Regions from separate parts of the Homo sapiens genome. Here regions 2, 3 and 4 are each linked to region 1. Evidence: promoter capture Hi-C in 16 types of primary human blood cells and fetal thymus (Javierre and others, 2016). All regions are on one chromosome and are shown on one strand. Each heading gives the region's core, a stretch centred on a gene start or on the middle of the fragment in contact. The rest is flanking DNA. Distances are from core to core; before and after follow the strand shown.

The links. The method cuts DNA at HindIII sites, captures the fragments that hold promoters and counts their contacts. A CHiCAGO score of 5 or more calls a contact.
Region 2: a fragment that was not itself captured here is called in contact with the fragment with the promoter of TBRG1 in region 1 in 3 of 17 cell types (naive CD4 T cells, total CD8 T cells and activated CD4 T cells); the score reaches 5.7 in naive CD4 T cells.
Region 3: a contact is called between the fragment with the promoter of OR8B3 here and the fragment with the promoter of TBRG1 in region 1, in 3 of 17 cell types (M0 macrophages, M1 macrophages and megakaryocytes). The highest score is 6.1, in M0 macrophages.
Region 4: a contact is called between a fragment that was not itself captured here and the fragment with the promoter of TBRG1 in region 1, in 11 of 17 cell types (naive CD4 T cells, total CD8 T cells, naive CD8 T cells and 8 more). The highest score is 7.5, in naive CD4 T cells.

What each region holds. Positions count from the first base shown.
Region 1 is chr11:124,619,510-124,626,600 of GRCh38, forward strand. It overlaps TBRG1 (transforming growth factor beta regulator 1), which reads left to right and starts at 3,355. Exons shown (of 9, transcript NM_032811.3): 1 at 3,355-3,724; 2 at 5,422-5,492; 3 at 6,162-6,394; 4 at 6,964-7,091. The coding sequence starts at 3,575. It overlaps LOC124902779 (a long non-coding RNA gene), which reads right to left and starts at 3,692. Exons shown (of 2, transcript XR_007062932.1): 1 at 1-3,692. It overlaps PANX3 (pannexin 3), which reads left to right. Exons shown (of 4, transcript NM_052959.3): 4 at 1-847. The coding sequence ends at 426. RefSeq lists an enhancer at 3,432-3,501. The HindIII fragment of the contact is 1,322 bases long and covers 3,148-4,469 here.
Region 2 is chr11:124,843,166-124,850,256 of GRCh38, forward strand. No RefSeq gene overlaps it. Among named protein-coding and RNA genes, the nearest start is that of ROBO3, 19 kb to the right of the region's middle. RefSeq lists an enhancer at 1-553. The HindIII fragment of the contact is 7,355 bases long and covers 1-6,886 here.
Region 3 is chr11:124,395,177-124,402,267 of GRCh38, forward strand. OR8B3 (olfactory receptor family 8 subfamily B member 3) reads right to left here and starts at 3,848. Exons shown (of 2, transcript NM_001005467.2): 1 at 3,514-3,848; 2 at 358-2,192. The coding sequence starts at 2,175. The coding sequence ends at 1,234. It also overlaps a transcript of OR8B2 not described here. The HindIII fragment of the contact is 12,656 bases long and covers 1-7,091 here.
Region 4 is chr11:124,772,607-124,779,697 of GRCh38, forward strand. It overlaps MSANTD2 (Myb/SANT DNA binding domain containing 2), which reads right to left. Exons shown (of 4, transcript NM_001308027.2): 2 at 2,113-2,368; 3 at 388-448. Among named protein-coding and RNA genes, the nearest start is that of ESAM, 14 kb to the left of the region's middle. The HindIII fragment of the contact is 5,004 bases long and covers 710-5,713 here.

The sequences.
Region 1 (7,091 bases), core at 2,105-4,604:
GAGACCCATGTCCCCAATCTGATCACATGCAGGCTGACATCACTGTCCATTTTCCAGATTGTTAGCCTCTCCAGTGTAGCAATATACACCATATTGGTTCCAGTGATAATATACAACCTCACACGGCTATGTCGGTGGGACAAACGACTTTTATCTGTCTATGAGATGCTCCCAGCTTTTGATCTCCTCAGCAGAAAGATGCTAGGATGTCCCATCAATGACCTCAATGTGATCCTTCTTTTCCTCCGAGCTAACATCTCTGAGCTCATCTCTTTTAGCTGGCTGAGTGTCTTATGTGTGTTGAAGGATACAACCACCCAGAAGCACAATATTGACACAGTAGTTGATTTTATGACTTTATTGGCTGGCTTAGAACCCTCAAAACCCAAACACCTCACCAACTCGGCATGTGATGAACACCCATAGTTAAGAAACCATGGAGCAAGAAAGCTTGTGGAAAGTCTCTCTCCTTCCTCATAAGACATGCACACTAATACACATACACACCAAAAAATTACACATTTTAAAACTGCTAAGCTTGGATTTAACTGAATCATATATCTTTTATCATGTTATCCTAAAAGTGAGAAGACATAACCAAGACATGGAAATAAATGTGAAAGCTGGAGCCGAAGAGTCAAAGAGCTAAAAAATTAAGTCTAGAACATTCTATGAGGATAGTATAAATAAAAAGAAATACAGTCTAGACATGCTGCAAGGAAAGAAGATTCTAAAGTCCGTTTATGGAGGCAATTCCATATCCTTTCTTGAACGCACATTCAGCTTACCCCAGAGAGCAAGTGAGGCAATCTGGCAAAAGATTAATAAAGATGTAAACCCCTGGAAACCCTTTGGTGTGGCCTGAAATCCTAGGAATTTACCCAGCTTGCTTTGTAGAAGTTATCAACCTTGTCCAAGTCCTCTGTAGCCTCCAAAGTGCTGGGAGATGATGGCTTCAATTTGTAATCTGCTCTTAGGATGTAAGGACATAGTAGAACAAGGCTGGGGCCATGTCTCAGCCGTGAGTGGAGCCTTCAGGTGCCCAGATACACTTTTCACCATCTAAACCAGGAACTCATTTCACCAGGGGCTGGGATTATGGGCTATGGACTTCTTCACAACTGTTAACGGAGCCAGGTATGCTTTTAATACTCCAGAGGATACTATGCCTTCCCTTACAGCTAATCACTGAATAGCAAGCACTTACAAATGGGTAGACAGTAAAGTGCTATTGAACTTCTTTCTCTTCTGATTTATTACCCTATTTTAGCTTCTAACTCCCATTCCTATGCCTGTAGTTAATGGAACTTTGGTCTGACTTCAAAGACCACACTCAGACACAATATCATGCTGTCTGCCATTTTATATTTCTTTTTAGAGCTACACATTATGCATTTCTTTAAAGAATTTTTGCATAGGCCATTTAGACCCTTCTTCGTATAGTTAAGTAGAAAAGTTGTGTTGCTTCTGACAGATTCAGGTAAGTTTACCTAACACAAGCAAAGAGCTGATAGATGGTTTCCTATTGTCACTGGGTCAAAGTCCAACTCTTCAGTTGGTACACAAGACTTTTCATGACCCAAAAAACCCTACTTACTGCTTCAGTCTCTCTTCTTGCTTCTCTCTACACACATCTTTCACACTGATCAACTACTTGCAGTTCCCATACTGAGCCTTTGCATATGCTGTCTCCACCATCCAGCATGCCCCCCTTTGTTCTTCACTGGGCCAACCAACCACTACCTCTCCTTCAGAGTCTGCCCAGATGTATCTCCTTTAAGAAACCTTTCCTATCTCCTCCCTCCTTCCCTGAGTGCTGCCAAATAAAATAAAACCTACCTCTGAAACAAACTTATTATACCATATTAACATTGCCAATTTACTTGTCTGTCTTTCCTTCTTAAATTAAGGTTCTTAAAGGTGGTATCATAATAGGCACTAGGTAAATATTCTTCTAAACAAATAAGGACTGAATGAGTTGCTCAGTGGCATGACCTTTGTGGAGCACACATATCCAGCCTCTGAACAGTCCTATATGGAAAAAGCTTTGGACGCAAAGATATGCTTTTAATGGAATTGACCAAAAAGTCAAAGAACATGGAAATAATTATGCAAAATATAATATAGCCATAACTGGAATATTAACCAGCCACTTAAAATTATGCTTATAAGGAAGCTATACTAACATTTGTGAAACTGAAATGATACAATGGTAAATGAACAAAAAGAAAACTTTATTTTCAGTATTGTCTAACCTATACAAAAATGCATAAAATATTAGACACATATACTAACATGGTAAAAGTAGTTCATTCCAAGTGGTAGCATTATGGATTTTTAAACCTTTCTTGTACTATATTTTCTAAATTTCTAAAGTTCGAATGAAATGTTTTGTAAGTGTAAGGAAATGTGTCCAATGAAGAAGAAACAAAAAATATCTTCATGCAAATCCCACTAAAGTCCATTGGCCAAAACAGCCTGCAAACTAGGACAAAGGATAGCACTTTTCTTCCCCCTAGATGTGATACATGTATATGAAAATAAATAATACAAATAAAGTCAGACCCCAAAGCCCGCAAGGACAAAATACAGCAGAACAGCAAATTTTTTTTTTGAGAGAAAAAACTAGAGAGTTACTGAACTAGTTATTGGCATCGCTGGAAGAAGATGCAAGCAAGCCTTCTGCCATCCAGCCTGGGTCACTTACCAATACCGCACCCTAAAGATTTTTCTATCTTCCCTAATTTTAAATAGACCTTGGTTGTAAAGTTAGAACCATATACATGTACATATTATGTACAGAAATACACTTCTGGTTTCACTAGACAAACATTTACTGAGTGCCTACTTAGTGCTAGTATTAAAACTGCGTGTTAAATCTCTCATCTTCCCTACTAGAAAGAGCCAAGGCCTTTCTTCCTGTTCACTACTGTGTTCCCAGCTCCTGGGAAGATGATAGCATTAGGAGGCCCTGCAAACACATTTCTGTGAGCTGCAGAAAGGAACGAAGCAGGGAAAGAAGCAGAGTCCCAGCACTTGGGCTCACTTTGTCCTACAGTCTGGGAAAGCCTGTCTGCACGAAGCATGAAAAACGTATTAAAACGCAGTGGCCCAGCGGGGGAGCGTGAATGAGAGCTCGCATTGGTAAGCTTCTTGTTAGTTCGTTGGTTCAACTATAGTACCCTTCAGCTAAGCACACGGCCGCCGGCCCTCCCTCCTCTCCTCATCCAGCACTAGCCCCCAGCTGTCTCTTTCCTCCCGGTGCCCACGATCGCACCGCCCAGACCACCCTACTCTCCCTGCCCCGGAAGTTACACACTGCCGACACCGGGACGTAACTTCCGGGAAGGGCTTACTTCCAAGACAGACACGGAAGTGCTGGGAGGCGCCGGGAGCCCGTTCGGTTGCGGGTGTCTCTGGCCCTGCGGTCAGCCCTGGGAACGTCCCGGAGAGCTAGATTCCTAGAGGCCCGATTCCGCTAGCCCGGAACAGACAAAGCCAGCGCTCCCGCCCGCTCCCCGACTTAGGATCCGATGCCGGCAGCGTCCTGGGGCCCCCGTAGCGGGGCTGGACCATGAGCCTGCTGGACGGCCTCGCTTCCTCGCCGCGGGCTCCGCTGCAGTCCAGCAAGGCCAGGATGAAAAAGCTCCCGAAGAAGAGCCAGAATGAGAAGTACCGGCTGAAGTACCTGCGGCTGCGCAAAGCGGCCAAGGCCACGGTGTTTGTGAGTCTGACCCACGTTCAGCCGGTCCCCTCCTGGAGACTCCCTCACAAAATCTTTCCCCAAGCTGTTCCCCCTTCCCAGTGTGACAGTATTAATACAGTGTTGGCTTTTCCGTATACGTTACTACTTGTTAGCCTTGTGTCCTTGGACAAATTACGTAATTTCTCTGTGTCCTCATCTGTAAATGAGCTAGTAACTGTCTTGCAGAATAATGAATATTAAATGAGTAAAGAAAAGTGCTTGGTGCGTAAAAGACATACCAATAAATTTTAGTCATCGTTGTTACTGCAGGACTCTAGGAAATGTGTTTGATTCTCGAGATACAGCCCTGAGAATTAGGCATTATTTGTAAAATGAGAACACTGAAGCCCAGAGAGATGATTTGCCCAAGGGTACTGTGTCAGAGCCCTGACTCCAACTTAGATAAACCTGATTCCGTTTTATGACTTCCAGTACACAGACTATTTTCTGAGCACCTCAAATCCCCATAACTGACCCTTTGCCCAAAGAGGTACATGAAACTGTCAGTAATTTCCCCCCTCTAACCTTTGAGTGTTCCAAGTGTTTCTTCCTTTCTTTTATTGTAGAAGCACTGGATTTATTGAGTGAATAAACTTAATATAGCTTGCCAGCCATAACTTTATATTAGAATAGTTTGGCTTGCCTCAGTGCTTGGAAATAGGGGTGGAGTCCTCAAATGTCCCCCCACATCCAAGTCAACAGTTCATCTCTTCTCTCTACCAAAAGCTTGAACGTCTCTCAGCATTTTTGGAAGCATAAGGAAAGGTTCAGAAATTAGAATACACATTCCAAAAGCACTTATTCAGCACTTGCTATGTGTATTGCTTGCTATTTGCACTGGAGAGAAACAAGAAAAGTAAAACTAAGAGAACTTAGCATCTGATTGACTGTTCCCTTTCTTTTATCCCCTATACGTCAAAGGTACCTAAAGCTTGGAATTTATGTTATTTCAAGGATATTGGTTCCATCAAATACATAATGAAGATTTTGTGAAGAAAAAGCGATGTTGTTTTGAACATTGAGAGTTTGAAGTTCCACCTATGGGGGCATTCAGATTCAGCATTCCCTTCAGGATTGGTGCTTGGGAGATAGATTGAGTCATCATTTACAAAAAAAAAAAAAAAAAAAAGAAAAAAGATAATACTTGAATTCGTATAAGTAGATTGTGAAGTTTAAGAATTTTACACACTAAATTTGATTTTGTTCTGTCCAGTTTTTCTCTATTTGGGTTAGACTGGCTTTGTAAGTTTTTCAAGAGTTGAGGCACTTGGGAATAGACAGTTTTCATATTTATAGTATTTAATTTAAGCATATAAGGATTTAAGCAGTATGCCTTTTTCTTTGCCAAAGGCTATACTAATTAGGGTGACCATTAATCTTGGCTTGCCCAGGACAGTCCTGGTTCACCGTATTGTTCTGGCATAAGCATTAATAGTACCCCCTTTTCACTCAAAGATGTCCCGGATTGGATAATAAATTACATAGCTATACCCTGTCCATAGTAGAACCTGACTACCTTTATCTATGGATTTATTTATAGTTTGTCACACGGTCGAATAGCTCCTTCTTCTCAGTAATACAAGCTTTTTTGGTTTGAAATATGGATCCTCTTCCCAGCATAATAATGTGATTTTTTTATTCATTTTATGTTATTATATTCACATTTTTACTTAAAGGAAAATGCTGCTATTTGTGATGAAATTGCTCGTCTTGAGGAAAAATTTCTTAAAGCAAAAGAAGAAAGAAGGTGAGCTGGCTTCATTTTGTGTTCAGCATCACCTTTTTGGTGATTGATTTGGTGATTGATAATGGTGTTACTGCTCTGGAGACTTTTTTTCCCAGTGGGATTGATGCGTATCGCACAGCCCCTTGGCCACTTGATCAAGCACAGAGAAACTTACAGCCTGAGGCATTGGTGCCTGCACACCCAAGTTATGTTGGGCCATGGCGATGAGACAGCTCCTCTACTCATCTTTCTGAAAAAGCCATCTTGCCACATCTAATAAATAATCTTACTAAGATTATTTAATCTTATGGCCCAATTATAAAAGCCAAGTGATAAAAGCAACTGCCTCTCGTTCTACAAATATTTATTCTGTACGTACTATTCTGTGCAAAGCACAATGGGTATATATACATGTGTAAATAATGTGCCTTTCAGAAGCCTAACACCGTCCAACATCAAGGTAGAGGAACCGTCCAGATGCAAGAGATAAGCTACAGTTCTTATCCTTGGCCTCTTGAAGTATTGATTATCCTCCAGGGCTTTATGATTCATAGGGCCTAATAAGAACCTTTCTTTTATGAGTATAGTAATCTTTGTATATAATTCTGGCTTTTCCCAGTACTTGAGTAAAATACTGAATTGAGACAATACGGAAGTTCATTTCTCTGCTCCTTTCCTTCCTGATCTCAGGTACTTGCTAAAGAAGCTCCTCCAGCTTCAGGCTCTAACTGAAGGGGAAGTACAGGCTGCAGCTCCTTCCCACAGTTCCAGTTTGCCCCTGACTTATGGTGTGGCCAGCTCTGTGGGAACTATACAGGGAGCTGGGCCTATTTCAGGGCCCAGCACTGGGGCTGAGGAACCATTTGGGAAGAAAACTAAGAAGGAGAAAAAAGAAAAAGGCAAAGAGAACAACAAACTGGAAGGTACTTTGGGGAGATGATATCAGTTGCCCCAGTGACTCACCTACTAATGACAGTTAGACCTGGTACTAACTGACAGACACACACAGCTGCAGATGTACTTAGAGTCTCATCTGGTTCTTAAGGAGCCCTAGGAGCCCTTGAGAAAACAAATGTCAAATGTATTAGAGCCACTTTGGGTGGAGAAATTCGAGCTAGACTTCGTTAAATGCAAGGGGAGCAGACTGAGACTTCCCCCTTCCCCCAACTCTCTGGGTTGCATTCCATTTAGTCTTTCCTAGAGGCAGGGAAATGGGCTAGGTGGCCTTTGGAGCACACTGCTGGCTTGGTAAATTTCTGATCTTACAGATGAAATAAGAGGCCTTAAAAAGTATAAGGCCTTTGGCTCCTAAGCACTAATCTGGGCAGGTTAGAAAGCTACTCAGGGCTTTGGGCGAAAGCCCCATATGCCCATTCAGTAAGTATATAAAACCAGGATTGGCTTATTGCCCTCACCATTCACGTGCAAATTTATCCCTTCCCTTCAACATTGGAAGGGGCCTAAAGTGGGTGACCCCAGATTTGCGTTTCAGTTCTGAAGAAAACATGCAAGAAAAAGAAAATGGCGGGAGGTGCTCGCAAGCTGGTTCAGCCCATTGCCCTGGATCCCTCAGGACGGCCTGTGTTCCCCATCGGACTAGGGGGTCTAACAGTATATAGC
Region 2 (7,091 bases), core at 1,959-4,458, 220 kb after region 1:
CCTCCCGCTGGGAGGATAATTAAAGCGCCAAACGGCGGAGCGGGCGGGCAGCGTTCCCGGGGGCGCATTTCATCGGGGCTGATTAATGAGGCCGGGGAGTTAATGAGGAGAAAGCTAAACGCAGGGAGCTGAGCCGCGGAAGGCCTCTCCGAGGCCCTGGAGGGGGTCCTCCGAAGGCATCTCCCGCCCTCTCTTTCTAGTAGCGGCTTAGCGCAAGCCACATGGTGCCCCAGGCTCCTCTCGCCGCCTCAAGCCAGGGGCGGGGGGGAGGAGGGGTCGCCCCAAGTCATACCGGCCGCACTGAAGTCGGTCTCCTCCGCTTGTGGCTAACCCGGCTAAACAGCAAAAGAGCCTGCCTTGCCATCTAAAACACAACAAAGGACCTCAGGAGACCGCCACTTTCTTCTTCTCCTCAGGGAACTTTGGGCATGGGTCCCAGACCACCTGCAGATTGCATTCCAGATCCGAATTAAGGATCAGCTCTGCCGTGCCAACCGAGTAACCTTAGACAAGTTACTTAGTCCTTTGAGCCTCAGCTTCTGCGTCTGTAAGATGGGCTCACACTCCTTACCCGCCCTAAAAATGGCTTTTAGTGAGTGCCAGACACTACTCTAAGCACTTGGCGTGTATAATCTTATTGATTCTTCCCAACAGCTCTAGGAAGTAGGCTCTGTTATTATCGTCTTTACTTCAGAGATAAGGACATTGAGGCAGAGAGCAGGGTCTTAACTTGCCTGAGGTCGCACTGCTACTTGCCAGGACTGACCCAGCTAATACGCAGTGGAGCCGGAAGTGAACACACACAGGCTGATCCCAGAACCTGTGCCCTATCCTTAGCATAAGGCTGTGGTGCTAGTTCTCAAGGCGGGTGTGAGCATCAAATCATACCCTCAAATCCAGAGAAGGGCTTTGTTTTTGTTTTTGAGACACAGTCTCACTCTGTCGCCCAGGCTGGAGTGCAGTGGCACAATCTTGGCTCACTGCAATGTCTGTCTCCCGGATTCAAGTGATTCTCTTTCCTCAGCTTCCCAAGTAGCTGGGACTACAGGTGGCCACCACCACGCCCAGCTAATTTTTTGTATTTTTAGTAGAGACTGGGTTTCACCATGTTGGTCAGGGTGGTCTTCAATTCCTGACCTCAAGTGATCTGCCCGCCTTGGCCTCCCAAAGTGCTGAGGTTACAGGCATGAGCCACTGTGCCTGGCCCAGAGAGGGACTTTGTACACTGTAAAATGCTAAGCAAATGTGAGAAGAAGCAATTATTAATACTATTAATATTAACTTACCGGGCTCTGTGGCTTGTGCCTATAATCCCGGCTACTTGGGAGGCTGAGGCAGGATGATCACTTGAGGCCAAGAGCTCAAGACTCTTGTGATTCACATTCATTCCCAGTTTTGAACCCAGAGTAGAGACAAGGCAGTGAGGGATGGAGCCACTGAACAGAGAGAGAGAGCAGGCAGGGTGATGGCTTTTCCAGCAGTCCGCATCCTTGTGTCCTAACTGCGGCAGTAGAGCTGAGAGTGACCTCTGCCTGACCTCAGGCAGTGACCCCCACGCCTTCAACGCACACCCTCAATGCACACTCTTCTGTAGTCAAAAGACGGACACACCAAATGTTCCCCATCTTCCTACAAGTGGCAGAGGAGTAGTAGCCTGAATTTTAAGAGAGCATGGTGCGAAGGGATGAGGGTGAGTTTGGACTCAGATAACCCATGTTACCATATGAATCTGTCATCTACCAGCTGTGTGAGCCTGGGTGAGTTGCTTATCCACTCTGAGCCTCATCCTGCCGGTTGGGAATGGTAGCTGCTCTCCCTGTGTCGCAGGACTGCTGTGAAACGGCAAACAGGAAGTTCTGGATGTGAAAGGACATTGCCACTTTTTGTCCTTGGTTGGAGAGTGCAGGTCACTACCCTGGGACATGCCAGGAGTTTCTAGCAATGGGCAACAGGGCAAAGAGCCTGAGCTCTCCCGTGAATGCCCTTCCCCTCCCCTAGTAATCTGATTTTGGGATCTACAACTCCATATCGCTCTCCAGTCGAGAATGATTTGAGACCGGAAGCCAATCAGCTCCTACCAAGTCTTGATGAGTTTGAAATGAGCCAATTTCCTCTGGATGAGTTTCTTCTGCTGAATCAGGGAAACTGAGGCTGCCCAGGCCAACCTAAAACAAATCAGTCTCCCCCCGCGGAAGTCAGACACTTCCACCTTCCCACCAGTCTGACTCTAAAGCCCCCAGCCCTCAGTAATGCTTTGCACCATCCCCCCCTCCACTGTGGGGGCCACCAGTACTGGCAAAAGGGGGAGCATAAATAATTTTCTCCAAAGGAGCTTGTGTCTAGAGAAACCAATATTTAACATCCCCATTTACATTGAAAGCGTGATTCTGATTATGAGATGGTAATGAGAGGATTAGGCAGAGGAGAGGGCCCCCCTGCCTGCCGCCCCCTCCTGTTCTTCCCTCCATCACCCTGCATCGCACAGGGTCTTATTCCTGGAGGAGGACGTGGGGAAGGGGTTGGGGCACTCCCACTGGGAGAGCATCAGAGATGCCAGAGCAGGGCAGGGGTCCTTCAAGACCCCAAGTGAGAGCCCCTTATTCATGTCTGGAATCAATTAGCCTCAGAGGGGGTGACAGGTGAGATGCGAGACACCTGACTCTGGTCCTTCCCTTGCCTTTCCCCTACACTGCGCCCCTCTGCTCCTGGATTCTGCCTGGTATTCCCGACAGGTGTGTTTCTTACATCGTTCTTTGTTTCTGAGGTGGACAGCTGAAGTCAAAAAGTATGTTGGGAGAACTTTTGCTTGGCTCCTGGCTTCTCTGGCTGAACCTCAAATCCCACTCCTCTCCCCTAAATTCCTCGTCTCTCTGGAATGGCATCCTTGTCCTCCTTGCCCCAAACCCTGTTTTTTAACCAGGCAGCAGTTTATCTCTGGCTTTTCCTATGGGGCAAGGGATGGGGGATGAAGAGAACCCAAGGGGGTCACCATCCTGAGGCCCCGTTTGTTGGTGGACAATTGCGCTCAGACGGGATAATTCAGTGTGTGATTGTGGTCACGCCCCCCGCCTTTTGTGCCCCTTTCAGAGCCAATCTCCCAGGCCCAGATGGGTTAATCCATAATGCAGACGAGCAAGTAACTGGCTGTCAGCCCAGCCCCCAGGACCCCCTCCCTATTAGTGCCACTGCCCTAATGAAGCCCAGCTTGGAGAGCCCCCTTCTCAATGAGGTGCCGGCCCCAACCCAGCCCGGCACACATGTGTCTCCACTGCTCTGCCTGAAGCCTAGTTCCCTTTAGGGACCCCGAGCCCAGCCTCCCCGGGGTGACCCAGCTGCCAGGGCTGTGGAGGCCCGGGGGGAGGCTGTGATGGATGGGAGGGAGATAGTTAATAGAGCCCAAAACACATGGGCCCTGTCTCCACCCTCCACACACAGACACTTTCACAGCTTCCATTGACAGCATCCCTGGTCTTTCTGAAATAGCCCCATGGAATAGTCCCCACTCCCATCTCCAACGTAAATTGTGCTGAAATAGGATTTAAATGGGGATTATGAAGCTGCTTTTCTGAATACTGGCCCAAGTCATTGCTACACAGCCAACCCCCAAATTCTGCCAACCTCAGTCCTCTTGTAGATTTTGAGCAGAAATGGCTCAAGGCAAGTTAAACAATGAGCTCGACCTTCAGCCTTTAGTGTCTCAATCAATATGTGACTCTTATGCCAAGAGATATTCTTTTCCTTATATCTTGGACTTCCATCTCTGCTCTCTCTTCTCATCCGCTTTTTTATTTTATTTTATTTTTTTGAGACAGAGTTTTGCTCTGTCACCTAGTCTGGAGTGCAGTGGTGCAATCTCTGCTGACTGCAACCTCTGCCTCCTGGGTTTAAGTGATTCTCCTCCCTCAGCCTCCCAAGTAGCTGGGAATACAGGTGCACACCACTATGCCCAGCTAATTTTTGTTTGTTTGTTTTTTGGTAGAGATGGGGTTTCACCATGTTGCCCAGGCTGGTCTCAAACTCCTGACCTCAAGTGATCCACCTGTCTTAGCCTCCCAAAATGCTGAGACTACAGGCATGAGCCACTGTGCCCGGCTTCTCTTCCTATTCATTTCTGAACCAATTATTTAGAGGCAGGACCAGCCCGACAGATGAGGCAGGTGTCTGTAGAGAAGACCTGCTGTTTGTGAGAGCTGCCTTACCTTGTCCTAGGCACTGCCCATCAGGTTCTGAGCTCCCTGCCTCTGGAAGGATTCAAGACAAACCTGGACGACATCTGTTTAAAATATCATAGAAGAGAGGTTTGGGGAGGATGTTTGCAAAGAAACCACACTTCTCTGATTCTCTGCACTTACTTCCTATTCCCACCTCTTTGTTCCCTCTTTCACCCTAATACAAACAACTGGCCTTGCTGGCTCTGGTGCCAAACCAATGGGGGGAAAGAGACTCTAGCCTCTGCGGCCTTGGGCTGTCCTACGATGCCCAAAGAGGCAGGAGTTTGGGGCGCTAAGGAGAGCTGGCCGTAATCTGCCTGCCCACCTTCCTCTACTTCACCCTTTCTAAATGATAATTGTATATTTTTCCATTATTAATTAGGATGACAAAATATCCAAAAATGGAGGAAAGATGGAAAAGTTGTATACATTCTCTCACACCTAATTCCACTGTTGGTTATACTTTGGTTTATTTTTCATTCCATCTTTTTCATAGGCACATTGGAAATCATCCAGCATAATTGAAATATTTACTGAATATCTTCTATGTGCCAGGTACAGTGCTTATACTTTTTCCACCTGAATTATAACTCTAGACCCATTTCTATTTCCTTTTCCTTTTCTAATGCCAGTGTAATTGCCTTGGAATAGGTATACTGTCTTATCATGGAATATTTGGAAGTTTTCACATTTAGAGATACAGGACCCTGAGATGATGGAGGTTAGAATCTATACCGGGCTCCAAAGTCACAGTGAGAAATCTTTTTATGATTAAGACCATGAAGAGGAAAATAAAGCCCTCATCCTGATAAGTGGAGGGCTCAGGGGTTGAAGGCAAGTGACTCTGAGAAAAGTCTAGCCCCATTTCTGATTACAGGAGGGAACAACGCTGGGTGGTGAAATACCATTCAGAGGTTGCTCCTAGGAGATGCTGAATATTTATGAGCTATGCAATCAGGACTTAGGAGGTAAGGCTTAAAGAATAAACAGGCAGCAGGATGGGGGTAGGGGAGAGAGACATGGAAGAGAAGCCGTAAGAAATGGAAAGGGACACACAAACAGAAGGAAGGAGAGAGGGAGTATTTCCCATGACTTTTCAGAATGGTGACTTCTCTCTATGCCCATAAAACCTAGATGCATCTCATTGTGTAGATGGGGAGTGAGGTTAGAGTGAGGCTGGACTTTCCCAGGGCAGACTCTGCTTCTCTGTGGGAATCCAGGGAGATCTTGGAGTCATCTTTACTGCCAGGAATTGAGATCCAGAAGTCAGTGAAAAGGAGCCCCTTACAGGGGCTCAGTGTGAGGCAGTGGAGGCTAAAGATGAATGTGAGGCAGTGGAATGAGGGACTTTAGGGTCAAGAGATCCCTGCAGATAGTGGAGAAAGGTCCAATATTCAATGAATACAAACAAATCTAGGAACGCACACAAGCACATAGAAACAAAGCGATAAAGACTCAGTGATGTCAGGTGGAAAACCTTTCATATATGCATTTAACACAAAAGCATTTCCCTCTGAATGGAAATCATTAGAGACATGGGAATATTCCTCTTTAATTGAAAAGTGGGACATCCTCTGTAGGATGTAGGGGATTTGAAGATCTCAATTGGTCCCTTACTTTGTGAATTTGATCCTCACCTACAGAGAAAGAGAGAGAAAAAATGGGGGCGAGGGGTGGTGGGGAGGAGGGATGCGGGAGAGAAAGGGAGAGAGAGGAGAGAGATGAAGACAGAGAGAAATAAAGAACAGAGTGGATTTCTGACTTTCTGGAGACTGAAAAAGTGTCAGGAATTAAAGAAATGGCAAATACAGTAATCCCTATCAAAATACTAATGACATGCTTCATAGAAATAAAAAAAAAATTCTAAAACTTTTATAGAACCACAAAAGATTTTGAAAAGCCAAAGCAATCCTGAGCAAAAGAACAGGGCCGGGAGCAGTGGCTCATGTCTGTAATCTCAGTGCTTTGGAAGGTCAAAGCTGGAGGGTCACTTGAGGCCAGGAATTTGAGTTTGAGCCCAGCCTGAGCAGCACAGTGAGACCCCCCTCTCTACAAAAAAGAAAAAAAAAACCCAGGCATGGCGGCACAAGCCTGTAATCCTAGCCATTTGAGAGGCTGAGGCGGGAGGATCCCTTGAGCCCAGGAGTTTGAGGCTGCAGTGATCCATAATTGTGCCACCGCTCTCCAGCCTGGATGACAGGGACCCAGATTCTAAAAACAACAACGAAGCTGGAGGCATCATACTACCATATTGGACTTCAAAGTTTAATACAGAACTATGGTAACTAAAACAGCATGGTACTGGCATAAAAAAACAGACACATAGCCCAATGAAACAGCATAGAAAACTCTGATATAAATCCATGTGTTTATAACCAACTTATTTTCTACAAAGGTGCAAAGAATATACAATGGAGAAAGGACAGTTCTTTCAATAAATTATGCTGGGGAGACTGGATATCTATATGCAGAAGAATGAAACTAGGTCCCTATCTCTCACCCTACACAAAAATCAAATCAAAATTGATTAAAGACCTAAAACTATGAAACTACCGGAAGAAAACTTTGGGGAAATGCTCTAGGATATTGGTCTCAGCAAAGACTTTTTGTGTAAGACATCAAAAGCGTGGTCAACCGAAGCAAAAATAGACAACTGGGATTACATCAAACTAAAAAGCTTTTGCACAGCAAAGGAAACAATCAACAAAGTGAAAAGACAGCCCACAGAATTGGAGAAAATATTTGCCAACTAGCCAGCTGACAAGAGATTACTAACCAGAATATATAGTTCAAGATCTCAATAGAAAAAGAAAACCAAATAATCTGATTTTCAAATGGGCAAAAGATCTGAACAGACACTTCTCAAAAGAAGACATACAA
Region 3 (7,091 bases), core at 2,598-5,097, 220 kb before region 1:
CCACTTGAGCCCAGGAGGTGGAAGCTGCAATGAGCTATGATTGAACCACTGCATTCCTGCCTAGGTGACAGAGTGAGATCCTGTCTCAAAAAAAAGACAAAAACAAAACAAAACAAAACAAAAAAACTTCAATTCAACAACTATTTCTTGATTTTACAATATATCTGACATTTTAAATACATGAACAGGAAAAGAATTCGACAAAATAAAGGAATTATGAGAAATAACCTTTATATAAAATGTGTTTCACGTCTTGTTGGTGAGATGATAAAGTTTAAGTAGGCTCACAAAATATTTGTAGAAATATAGTTTATTAAAATTAATATACATTTTTTCATGACAAACCACATTGGATAAGTAACCATTGTGTAAAATATTTCTGCTAACTTAATGTGCAGTATTTACCTATAACGAGTAAAAAAATAACATTTACAGTAGGAACTACACGCTTTTTTCAAAATTTTCAATGCTGTTTTAGATAGCAATGAATGAAAGTTTTATAATGTAAACAATGGACCCACTTATTGGAATCCTGAGGTCCACATGTATTATTTCTCTAATCATCCTCTGTAAATGCTGCCTTTGGCAATAAAAGGTGGAGACACACATATTCTCTGCTGTATCAAATGCACTGGACTGATAGAGGTTCTCAGAAGCAAACGGCATGTGGTACAAATTTTGCCATTCTCAAAGGGAACAAGAAAAGTCAGAATAATAAAAGGCAAAATGGTGACAATATAGAACAAAAGGACAAGATCAAGGGGTGCTCATTCTGCTTTAAGCTACCTACCATTTGTAATGGAGACATTTCATCAAATCCAGCTGCCTATATCTGTAACAATGTTGATAAAAATAAGAATGCTTCTATCATATTTGGCACTTCTGAGTTTAGGTGAGAAAGCCGTGACTTTGACATCTTTATAATTCATGAAATTTACCATATATGTCCAATTAAGAACAGCCCAGGAGAGAGGAAGGATATAAAATGATAATGAAAAATATCAGTGCATATGTTCCTTTTACAAAGATGCCATGACCTATTTAGTAAAATTGTGAGAAGTGCCAGAGATGCAAAACCAAAAAAAGAGACAAGATGATTTCATAAGAGAAATGATAAGACAAGTTTATTAAATCACACATAACACCATCTGTAGAAACAACAAAATCTCTTCATGGAACACACTAATAAAAATTTAAAGTTCTTCAATCGTTTTACATTATTACTGCTTCTAATTAGAATATATTTCTTCTCTGAATTTTAATCAGAGCTTTCCTCAGTGCAACTTTGACATCCTTGTTCCTCAAACTGTAGATGAGAGGATTGAGCATGGGCACCACATTAGTGTAGAAAACAGAAGAAACTTTTCCCTGCTCCATAGATCCAGAAGAATATTTAATATACATGAATGCCGCTGACCCAAAAAACAGAGACAGAGCAATGACATGAGAGCTACAAGTACTGAAGGCTTTTGATCTTCCTTGAGTGGATTTGATATGAAGAATGCTAGTGACAATGAAAACATAAGAAATGAGGATGGTACAACTGGGTACCATGATATTAATACCCACAACAATGAGAACAACCACCTCGTTGACATAGGTGCTGGTGCAGGAAAGCTGGAGGAGGGGGAGTATGTCACACAAGTAATGGTTGATGATATTAGCACTGCAGAAGGTGAGTCTAAGCATGCACCCGGTGTGGGCCGTGGCTCCAGCCAATCCCATTATGTAAGCAGCAAAAGTGAGCATAGAACAGACCTGATGGGACATGGTGACCTTATACAGCAATGGATTACAGATGGCCACATAGCGATCATATGCCATTGAGGTCAACATGTAACATTCAGAGATGACAAAAAAGAGAAAGAAAAACAGCTGAGTCATGCACCCAACATAGGAGATAATATTCTTTTTTGATACAAAGTTCATTAGCATTTTGGGAGTGAAAACAGAGGAGTAACAGAGATCAATGAAGGAGAGATTGAAGAGGAAATAGTACATTGGTGTGTGGAGGTGAGAATTTAGACCGAAAAGAATGATCAAGCCAAGGTTGCCTACCATGGTGACAATGTAGACCACTAGAAACAGGAAAAAGAGGGGTTGCTGGAACTCTGGATGATCTGTTAATCCAGCAAGAATAAATTCAGTCACTAAGGAGTTGTTTCTAGCCAGCATTTTTTGTCTTCAAAAATCTGGGAAGACAAAAGAAAATTCTATTAGGAACACAGATTTCTTTTTACAAAATCTCATTAATGAGGAGGGGACTCAGGCTGTAGGAATTTGGGTGACTTCTTTGTTTCATGGGATCTGAATGTTCTGAATGTACTGCCACTCCCACTCCTCAACATTTCAGTCAGTGTCTTTTGTCTGTACAGACTGAATGTGACAAACAATTGCTCCTGTCCTTACTAGAAGACAGAGAGGTGGAGTAGCTGAGGCACAGGCCTACCTGCTGTTGAGCTTGGGTTATGTGGATGTGTCTCATCTCCCTCGCTTCCATCTGGCCCTTCACTTCCTAGTTTCTTTTTTTTTTTTTTAAGATGGAGTTTCACGCTTGTTGCCCTGGCTGGAGTGCAATGGTGGGATCTCGGCTCACTGCAACCTCTGCCTCCCGGGTTCAAGAGATTCTCCTGTCCAGCCTCCCAGGTAGCTAGGATTACAGGCACATGCCACGATCCCAGCTAATTTTTGTATTTTTAGTAGAGACAGTGTTTCATGATATTGGTCTGGCTGGTCTCAAACTCCTGACCTCAGATGATCCACCTGCCTCAGCCTCCCAAAGTGCTGGAATTACAGGTGTGAACCACCGAGCCTGGCCACTTCCTAGTTTCTACTTATGTTTCCATTATTCTACTAGACACTTCAGTTTCCTTGTGATGACCACCAGGTAAGGGAGGATTCCTTTAGGGCAGAGACCATACCGATATTCTGTTTCCTAGACAGGGGTCTCCTATAGGGTTTCTAGATACCTTACTATAAGAATCCATGAAGTCACCAGGTGATAACAGAAGACCCTTAGTAGTCAAAGCCTTATGATTCACCACATACAAATCACATAAGTGTTTCTACACATTCTCCTCTATTCCATCCTAGCTAGACAGGATGAAGAAAGGAAGCTGAATGTGCTTTCACAGGTCTTTGTAGGAAGGCATAAGAGAAACATAATTAATTTGGGTACAGTTATATTAGTTGTTAAGTTTGTAAAATTTTACCAAACTGGTATTTTTATGACCCTTAAACTCTTCTATATGTATAGCACATGTCAATATATTTTTTAATAAAGAGACAAATATCCTTTCCTGGCATTCCTCTGTTCTGGATGTGTCACTTGGAACTGCTATTGCTATCTTGATACCAGGCTAAGAATGAAGCCAACAGAGAGAACAGTGTGAGAAAAATGCAAGCCCAAGAGTCAGAGCTCCATACCACTAAGTTTCTTGCTATTGAATAGAATACTTTTCCCCATTTTTCAGCAACATCCAGGAGAGAGAAATAGAAACTTGATTAACTCACCTTCCTTCCACTCAGAGAACTCAGTGCTGACCATTGATATGTGTTTCACCTCCACTGCCCTGGAGGAAGAAATGGCTGTGAAGGTATCTATGTTGATCAGATGTAGTCACAGAATCTTCTTCTCCCTTGACTGGCAAAAGCATTGAGCAGAGATCTCAGAATCTGAATGTTCTGGGAATCATTTTGTGGTGTAGATCAAACTATTATTTATAAATTTGCCAAGAGGGTTTGTTGGAAAACTGCACTTCAAACCAGAGCTACCATGTCATAGAGCACATGGCATTTGCTCAAGGCTTACAATTCTTTTGGACCTGATTACATATCCCCCAGTAAGTCTCTCTCAGGACCTCCCCTACCATGACAAACTCTGCAGGGAAGAAATTGTATGCCCTTGTTTACAGCCTAATTTGTTGTAGTAGAGGTAAATTTCTCATCAGGGATTATACAATCCACAGGGCATAGGAGAAAGAGCATCTGCTCTCATGTATAAAGATGTAAATGTAATGATTGTCAGAATTTTTGCTAATTATAATCCTAGGTAGTATATTAGCTTTAACAGGAATGTAAGTATAATTTAGTGAAGTTTATATGCTCATTTTTAATATTGTGAGTCCTTTTAAATAATCTTTCAAATAATCCATTTTTACTTTTGCATACTTCATAGGCATAAAGAAAAGGGATACTTTTAATTGATTTCAGATTTTTTAATAAAAATTTTGTGTAACATAGAATTATCCTTTATTTCATAAAAATGTATTTACCTTGGGTTGCTCTAACTCAACATGTCTTTGTCTTTCATGTTAAAATCAAATCCGTAAGAAAAATCACTATTCATGGGCCGTTATTTCAAGACAGTGTGACTTTAGAATTTCTCTGTAGGTAGGAATTTGTGCTTGTGAGAAGGCATCTATTTTTTTACCTTTTTATTTTAAAATTACTAGAATCACAAGAAGTGGCAAAAGTCATACGTAGATTCCCTTGAACTCTTCACCCAGTTTCCTCACATGGCGATGTCTTCCACGACTATAGGACAATAGCAAAACCAGGAAATTGACATAGGTTCAATAATGTTAACGAAACTACAGACCTTATTCACTAGTTTAACATGCTCGTATGTATGTGTGTGCAAATCTATGCAATTCTATCCCATGTACATATTTATGTAACCACCACCTAAGTCAGGATACAGAATTCTCTTTTTTTTTTTTTTTGAGACTGTGTCCTGCTTTGCTGCAATCACAGCTTACTGCAGCCTCAACCTCCCAGGTTCAATAGATCTTCCCACCTCAGCCTCCCAAGTAGCTGGGACTACAGGCACATGCCACCACCATTGGATAATTTTTGTATTTTTTATAGAGACAGGATTTCATCATATTGCCCAGGCTGGTCTTGAACTCCTGGGATCAAGTAATCCACCTGCCTTGGCCTCCCAAAGTGGTGGGACTACAGGAGTGAGTCACCATACCCAGCCAAAAATATCCATCTTAAAAGAGATGTATAAACTTTTGTTTTCTTATTTTTTATTAGTAATTATTATATGTATTTATGGGATACAATGTGGTGTTTTGATAAATGTATACATCATGAAATTATTAAATTAAGATCATTAACACACCTATCAACTCACATACTGATTTTCTGTAGTGTAAACACTTAAAATCTACTCTCTTAGCAATTTTGAAATATATATTGCATTATTATTAACTATACTCTCCAGTCAGTGCAATAGATTCCAAAAACATATACCTCCTTTCTAATTAAAACTTTGCACCCTTTGACCAACATCTCATTCCCCTCACCCCCAGCCTCTGGTAACAACCATTTTGTTTTTTTTCTTTTTATTATACTTATTTATTTAAAAATATTTGAGACCAGGTCTCACTCTGTCACCCTGGCTGGAGTACAGTGGCACGATCTTGGCTCACGGAAGCCTTGGCCTCCTGGACTCGAGCAATCCTCTCACCTCTGCCTCCTGAGTAGCTGAGAGTACAGGCGCCTGCTATCACACCCAGCTAATCTTTTTTTATTTTTGTAGAGACAGGGTCTCACTGTTTTACAGGCTGGTCTCGAACTCCTGGGCTCAAACAATCCTCCCACCTTGGCCTCCCAAGGTGTAATCTCCCAAGGTGTAATCTCTCACACCTGGGATTACAGATGTGAGCCATCACACCCAGCGTAATTTTAAAATTTCTATAATTTTATAAGATAATATTCCAAAAATATATATATTCATAGTTATTAATGAAAATTTGTACTTTCTTTTGGAACATAAATTCTTTACATCAGGCTTTGTGCTAGAAATAGCTATTTGCAATGCTTTTTCCAGAATTTTTAATGAGTGTATCTCTAGTTTCTTTTACAGTCACTGTTTTAGTTCACATTGACCTGCTATAAGAGAATACCTAAGACTGGGTAATTTATACAGAATTTTCTTGGCTAATGATTCTAGAGGTTGGGAAATCCAAGATTGAGGTGTCAGCATCTTGCAAGAGCCTTCTTGCTGTATTATCACATAGGGGAAATGCAAAGAGACAGAGAGAGAGAGAGAGAGAGAGAGAGACTGGAGCTGAACTCATCCTTTTGTAAGAAACCCACTCTTGCTATAAAGGCATTAATTCACGAGGGGAGAACCCTCATGGCCTAATCACAATCACCTCTTACAGGTCTCGTCTCTTAATACTGCTACAATGGCAATTAAATTTCAAGATGCATTTGGGAGGGGACAAACAATCAAAACACAGCAATCATCATCAATGAGAAATTATATATGAAAAGTGGTAAGAGTTTTCAATAATTTGTACCACCATTTAAAACTTTGCTATTGAAATCAGATTTTAAAAATATAAGAGTTTTTTTCCTTTCATTGGCGTATTTAATGTTGAATCAGTTTGGAATCAATTTCACTTTTTATTTCAAATATTACAAAATAACAAAGAAGCTCTAATTTGCAGAAAGTGTATGCATTGTTAGAGTAACCACACTGCAACCAGCTTAGATGCCACCAAAAGGCTCCATCAGCTGCTGTAAGAGAATATATGGAGAGAAGTATCTGATCTGGGATACTTGGACAGAAGTATCTGATCTAGGGCTTCTGCTTGGAGCAGTGGCCCTAGGATTTCTGGCCTGGTCTCCCACCACCACAGAAGGCAGCACCTAAGGCTGAGCACTGTGCTTCTTGGGCACCCAAAACATAAGCTCCACCAGCAGCTCCATAGGCCTCTTGTCCACAATGGTCTCTGTCCTTCTCTCCATGTGACAGCTGTAGCTGGTGTCCAGGTGGTGAAGTGCCTCTTTGGTCAGGCTGTGAAATAGAACAGTGAGTACCTGACTTGGCCAACTGTTCTTGCATCTAGGCAAAGCATACCATCAGATACTCTCCACTCTTGCCCTCCTGACAGCATCTTTTTAGGCTCTGTAGCCTCTGTGCCTTTTGCATGTATTCTTATAGGGCTTCTACATGAATAAAACTTTCTTCCAATTAAAATTGTATTTATACAGCTGGTATAACAGAAGGATAACAAAGATGTACAACAGTACCCATATCTTCAAGAAAGTCACCAATTTGCAGATACAATACT
Region 4 (7,091 bases), core at 1,962-4,461, 150 kb after region 1:
GGCGCCTGTAGTCCCAGCTACGCTGGAGGCTGAGGCAGGAGAATGGCGTGAACCTGGGAGGCAGAGCTTGCAGTGAGCAGAGATTGCACCACTGCACACCAGCCTGGGTGACAGAGCGAGAGCGAGATTCCGTCTCAAAAAAAAAAAAAAAAAAAAAAAAAAAAGAACGTATAGACATCACAGTTCCTGGAATTACCAGTGATGCTATGTTTGTGATGCTTTCTAATAGCTTTAAGTGAGTCCCTGATTAAATCTAAAGAATGAATAGACATGCCTCCTTGGTGAATGGCCGGAACTTTCATAATATGTCTAAATATTTTCTGATCTTCCCAATGGTCATTAAACTTAGGCAGACACACTTTCTGGAAAGGTGAAGCATCTACTTACTGTGCTTCTTCAGAAGACTCTTGTTTTATTTTTAATGTTCTCTTTGTGACAGGTATTTCATCTGAAAAGCAAAGATTTTGAAAAAAGTTATACTTTCCTAAGTGGTGGCATGCATGTATGTAGATAAGTAGCTATGTTTACTGATCATTCCATACTTTCCAAAACCAGGCTTTTATTCTAGTGTCAAACACTGTCCAATGTCAGATTTATAAATATAGCTCTTATATAATGAGATGCATACATTTATATGTAACATCAGAAACCAGCTCTACAAGTATAAAATTCTTCAAGGTCACCAGTGGATTTCTAGCTAGGAGCTTAAAGCTTAATTTCACTGCAGACATGATTTTAAAAGGACAAGAATAAAAATAATTCTGTTCCATTTAGATTTTCTATGTAGGTTTTACAAAGCAATTATTCCCCCAATGTCAGGATCAACATATTCTGCATATTGCTTTTTTCCCAAAGGTTTGAGTGACTTAACTCTCTACAGCAAAACCAGTGTTATGGAATGCCAAAGTAATTTAGACCTTATTACTCCTTTGAAATTAATCGGTAGTGATCGCTTACCATCTACCCCTTTTATTCTTCTAATCGTTAAGTCCATTTCTTATACGCTGTTAGTCTTATAGTTTTATAACCTCTTTCTTCTTTGACTGTCTTCCAATATTTGAAGAGTATTTTTAAAACAACATTGCTAAGAAACATATTAGCATTTAGTCCTTTTTCTTTGGAATTAACATTTTTCTATCATCAAGAATTTGGTAAAAAACAGAGCCCATGGACTTTTATCTAAAGCTCAGGGAGCATGTTTATACTGCCAATCCTACTTATACTTCCTTGGGGGCTGCCTGAGTACCAAGGGCTGGGAGCAAGAATATACCCTTCTAAGTGAGCACTCATTACATAACCTCCTGTTAATGTACAATGGCTGATTGATCAGTACCTCCAAATTATGAAATCAAATTATGAAAATAAAAATTGGAGCATGTAATGCGCAAAGAAACAGAACAATCCCACAACTACATATATACTCTTAGTTAGGCCCTACAAGTTTAGATTTGATGACCAGGAATTTTATTTTCCATTTTTAATGCCTATGACTGTATAAATAATTCCAGCTACTGTTGGGATGCGATCCCTTAAGAAGTGTGAAGGAACATGATCACACAGTTCAAATAACAGCTCTATTCAAGATAAATGGAGGCTTCCCCTCATTTTGTGTTCAGGCTCAAGTCTGAGAGAAGACCTTTTCCAAATCATAAACAGAAAAGAAAAATGTATTTGGGATAAAAGAAGGAATTCCTAAGAACAACATCTACAGCAGTTGGGCCAAGATATCTTAGCAGTCATCTTAGAACTAGAAGGTACAGGATATTTAGAATTGCATAGGATGTTACCTGTCACTGAGTGTACTTGTATAGCTCAGAATTAGAAATTCTTCTGTGTCTTTGGGAATCCTGCTGGTAAACAACTTGCCAAATGAACAACACCAAGCACCAGTTGGCAGTTTAAGGCTAAACCAAGGATGCCCACATTGCCCCAAATAGACTGGGACATGCAAATTCATGAAAGACATACAAGGCAGAGATGCCCTTTATGCCTTATGCTGACCACTATAGGGAACAGTACCAAAGATATTTACAGGTAATAAGTACTGGTGCACATACATAAAGGTATATAAATATACACAAACATAAGTATCATATATGTTGGCTTTCTTACCCAATTCCTGATCTGTTGGATAGCCATGGAGATCCTGACTGTGGTTTCCCCAGTCCTCCTGTGAATAGTCCTCCATAGTGCTGCCATCTGACTCCAGCTCCTGGTACAAGCCACTACTGTTAATAAGTACAGGCTGGCAGGGCTGAGCATCCCATCCTCCCTGACCAAACACCTGTTCCAACTGTTCAAATGTGTAACTGCTCTTTCTTTTCCCAACACCATGTTCTTTCACCCGACTGTAACACCTGCGAAGGGTCTAAGACACAAAGTCTTTTGTTATTCCTTTAAAGCTGTACTTCCTCTTCCAGGTACGGACCACAGATATTAATTACTATTAGACAGACACAGACAGACAAACATAGACACATTGTTACAGGAATGCTAGATTTCAAATTCATTATTATATTAGAAAAAAATACTAATTTAGCATTTACTCAAACATGTTATAATTAAAACAATTATTTTGCAATTAATTATCCATTAAACAACAAGAAACATTACAACATTATTGCATGTACCCCATACACATATTTTTATACCCCCACCCCCATTTAAAAAGAATAAGGGGGAAAAAAAACAAGAAATACCAGCCAGCCAATAGGATGCACACCTGCCACAGAAGAGAGAGAGCTGCTGTTGTGCCCAGAATTTGGAAAAAGTGAGGGAAGGGAGGACAGAAAGAAGAATTTCCCAAAGCAAAGAATACCTGCCTTACTCTTGATTAAGAAGGAATGAATACAGGGTAAAAATAATTGCCTAGACAAATTAGCTAGTAAAACATATTACTTACATAGTTGTATTCCTTACTAACTCAGTCTTTGTGGAAGCCGCTAAAATTTAAAACAGAGGTCAAATCAATAATGCTACAAATTCCAGGTCTCAAACATCAATGATCAAGAAACAGTACACTAATACCTACGTCTAAAGCTAGACAATCTACTCGTCTGTTCTACCAACTCAAGCTGCCAGCTAAACAAACCAACAAATGAAGCCAGTGATTTCTTTCTGGGGAAAAGGACGGGACAGAGGGGTGTTATTTCACTTCCTTTTCTGCCATGTGGCACACAGCAAATAAATATCATTATGCAAATCCACAGACAAAACCTGAATAATTTTATTCTCTTGTACAACCCTTCCATTTTTACCATGGTCTTTATTTCTAACACATATTTCTGATTATTAGCCCAGTTTCCTGAATTTAATGGTACATCTTATGCTATCTTATATGGCATTTCAAAAGATAAATCAAGGGCTTAATCCCAGCTTCCAAATTTAGTTAAGTTGCAACCAGTCTCTATCCCATCTCTGCCTCCCTTTGTTCCTTCTAATCTCCCTTCTACTTTACTGAGTTTCACTAATTATTTTCTTGAAATAAGATCTCTTTTCCCTGGTGGCTACCAAATACTTTCTAACTCAACTGTTCAAAAGTAGTTCACCTCAGACTTAATTTGTAGGCACTGCCAGACTAAATTTATCCTAAACGTGAGATTGCTCTCCATAAGCCAATATGTTAACTATTTTCACCAAACTAAAACAACTCTTAATAATATCTACAAAGCCTCCAAGGAAGTTCAGTCTCTTTATTTATATATTTTTTGAGACAGCACTTCGCTCTTGTTGCCCAGCCTGGAGTGCAATGGCGCCATCTCGGCTCACTGCAACCTCGCCTTCTGGGTTCAAGTGATTCTCCTGCCTCAGCCTCCCAAGTAGCTGGGATTACAGGCATGCGCCACCCTGCCCGGCTAATTTTGTAATTTTAGTAGAGACGGGGTTTCTCCACGTTGGTCAGGCTGGTCTTGAACTCCCGACCTCAGGTGATCCGCCCGCCTTGGCCTCCCAAAGTGCTGGGATTACAGGCGTGAGCCACCACACCCAGCCAGGAAGTTCAGTATCTTTAAATCACAGTTGACAATCTACAAGACACTCTATCAGATACTTTAAAAATTTGTCCCTTGAAGCCAGAAATCTAGATGGGTAAAAGGAATAATAAAAGCACGACATGTGTGATGATCTTCCTCACACAAAAACAGAGCAACAATTAAGAGTCTCCCACCCTAAAGCCAGCCGGCCTACCCCCTGCACAAGCATCTGCCTCATTCTCCCTTTCTTGAGATCTCTTCTGGAGCCTCAAATGATGCCTTAGAGAACTGAGGTTTCCAACGATACACTCTTTTTAAAAGTGTTTCTTCTTCCTCTTTGTAAAAGATAGTCACAATTACATAAGACAAAACTTTCTAGAACAAACCAGAAATATGAACTTGGCAAATGTGTGTCATGGGCAAACCTTCCAATGGAAGGAGACAAATGCCTGCGGCAGAGCTCATTTGACTTTCTACACACTCCCCCTTTCCCAGCGCCCTCTGCCCTCCTTGCAGGGATTGGAATTTGAATTCCAAACATCCCTTGCCAATTTATTTTTATCTCACAATGTCTAGTTTCTGCCTCCAAGAACACCCCAACCACTCTTTTCAACTCCTCCAAGGACCGTAAATGGAGAGTCCCAACCATGTCCCTTTCACCCTTCCAAGGCCATAAATGGAGAAGGAAACCATGCCACTGCTCACTACTTACTGACTCCCTGGAGAAAAGCATTCAGCACACACAAGGGCCCAGTTGGCTCTGTTGCTGACGGTTATTTCGGAAGTCAGGGAATAAAACTAACATTCCTTTCAAGAAAGGTGCCACACATATCAGGAAGTGACACAAGCATAAGCAAAGCCACCAATCTCTGGCGATAGACATGGTAGGAAACCACAGCAAAGACTCTTACTCTCTTTGGAACCACCAAATTGAGCTTAATACTTCACTTGGCTTATGTAATTGTGAATAAGGAAACTAGCAGTATCTAATGGTTACAGATATGGAAGAAAAGTCAGGTGACACATTTTACAATTTATCAAAAGACACTAACAGATCTTGCTACTTCTTACTTTGTAGTGTACTTTTGTAATACACTTGAATACTGCACTATGCTAGTATGTAAAATATCTATCAGGGGCCTGAAGGAAAGATGTTTGGTAACTTTTAAATCCATGATAGGAATTTGATGTATTGAAATCATGTTAAAAAAGATTTCCCAACTGATTTTAACTCTCTCAAGATATAAATGCACTTAAGAGGTAACTTCTGGGTTCAGTAAAGACCACAGATCCAAGGAGAGGCTATTTAAATCACATCAACTAAGAAAAAAAAAGAGTAAGAACTGAAACTTCGGCTTGACTGGTACTGTAAGAAGCACTGGGATTGAGTTAAACTTGAGGGAGTTTAGAGATGGATAAAAAGGAACTATGGAGACCTTCCAATTATCACCCACAATAAAGCAAAAGAGGTTACACTTTCCACACTCTAAATTAGCCAAAGCATGGAATTAAGACTGTGCGTGTCCCAGTCCTAAATAAACCCACTTAAAAACCTACTCTAGAGCTGAGATTACAATAATGCTCAGAAAAACGAAGCCTCAATTCCCATTTCAGACAGCTCTCAAACCCAACAAGAACCTCAATTTGGCTTTCTTGGAGAACCATGTCCTATTCAACACAAAAATCTTGCTTCCCTTTCTTCTTCCTTTATTTTACTCATCCTAGAAATTTGTAGTAACTTAAGCTTAATAGTTTCTAAAAATTAAGGTCTGGGGCAGGGGCAGAAATGTGCTTAAAATTATTAAAAACTATTCTATTCACAATTAGAGATTGTAATTTTCCTGACTGTTGGAAATCTCCCCGGTAAATTGACATGATGCTGTTGTCTCCCCCTGGAGGAAGAGTTGTGAGAGAATACTGTATCCTGAAAGAAGCTGTAGGGATAGAGGTCAGGAGGAGTCAGGAAAACCTGGACTGAAGAACTAAAGCATAGGTAACAACTTGATCGGTGGTCAACCCAGAGGAGTTCATGGTATTTGATTTGGAAGCAATGGCAAGAGAATGCTTACTAAATCCACCATGCCAAGTGCTTCATGACTATGAAGGGAAAAGAGCCAGAGAAAAGACTTCAAAGATGTCCCATTACCAAAGCAGGGAGAAAAATAAGATGGCTGACAACTGACAATTTATAGGACAGAGTGAAAGTTTTGCCAAAGTTTAAGATTAGAGTAAAAGGAAATGAGAGAATAAAAAGATGACATTCATTGTGGATGAATGTATGGGGAGTCTATGGGGGAGGGGGAAGGTAAACAAAGGCAGGAGTTTTAGATTGGCAGGATTGGGGGTTTAACGGCAGCAATGTAGAGAAAGACCCAGGGTTACAGTACACGTAACATTAAATACAGTGCACAATGCAGCTATCTTGCCAAAGTAAGTAAATCCAGTATTGGGTTGTATAAGCAGAGGAATCACATGTAAGCTATGAAGGTGGCTCTTCCTCTCTATTCAGCACCGGTGAGGCCACAGCTGGAGCACAGCATTCAGTTCTGGGCATCGAACCAGCTACAAGAGAGGGAAATTGTAGAGTTCAGAAAAGGGCAAATAAAATATTGAAAGGCTTGGAAAATAAGATCTATAAGCAGGGACAGTGGTTTCATCAAAGCCCTTCCTGACATTACCTAAGCTACTTTTGGGGTGAAATTAAGGTTTATTTTGCTTTAGTGTCCTCCAATCCTTTGACTTTCAGGAAATGGGAAGAATTAAATTCTTCCCTGGTAGGGCAAAGTAGAAAACAAACTAAATAAATCATAAAGGCATATGCCAACCAATTCCAGTATTGGCTTAATAATTTTCTCAAAGTTTGCCCCATTTCATACAATCATAAAATATTCACCAGGACAAAAACACTGTTCTAGCTAACTGACCATACATGGAATGGAGCACTATAACGTGGAGGAACAGAAATAAGGCATAACAGCTATATAAATGTATTGTTTAGAAAACATTGGCTTGATCAGTCTAAGATGTCAGATGAAAAATAAAGTCAATCTGCAAGGAGGACAGCTTAGTTATAATAGCAGGAAACAATGTTACAAGAAAAAACAAGCAGTGAAACAGATT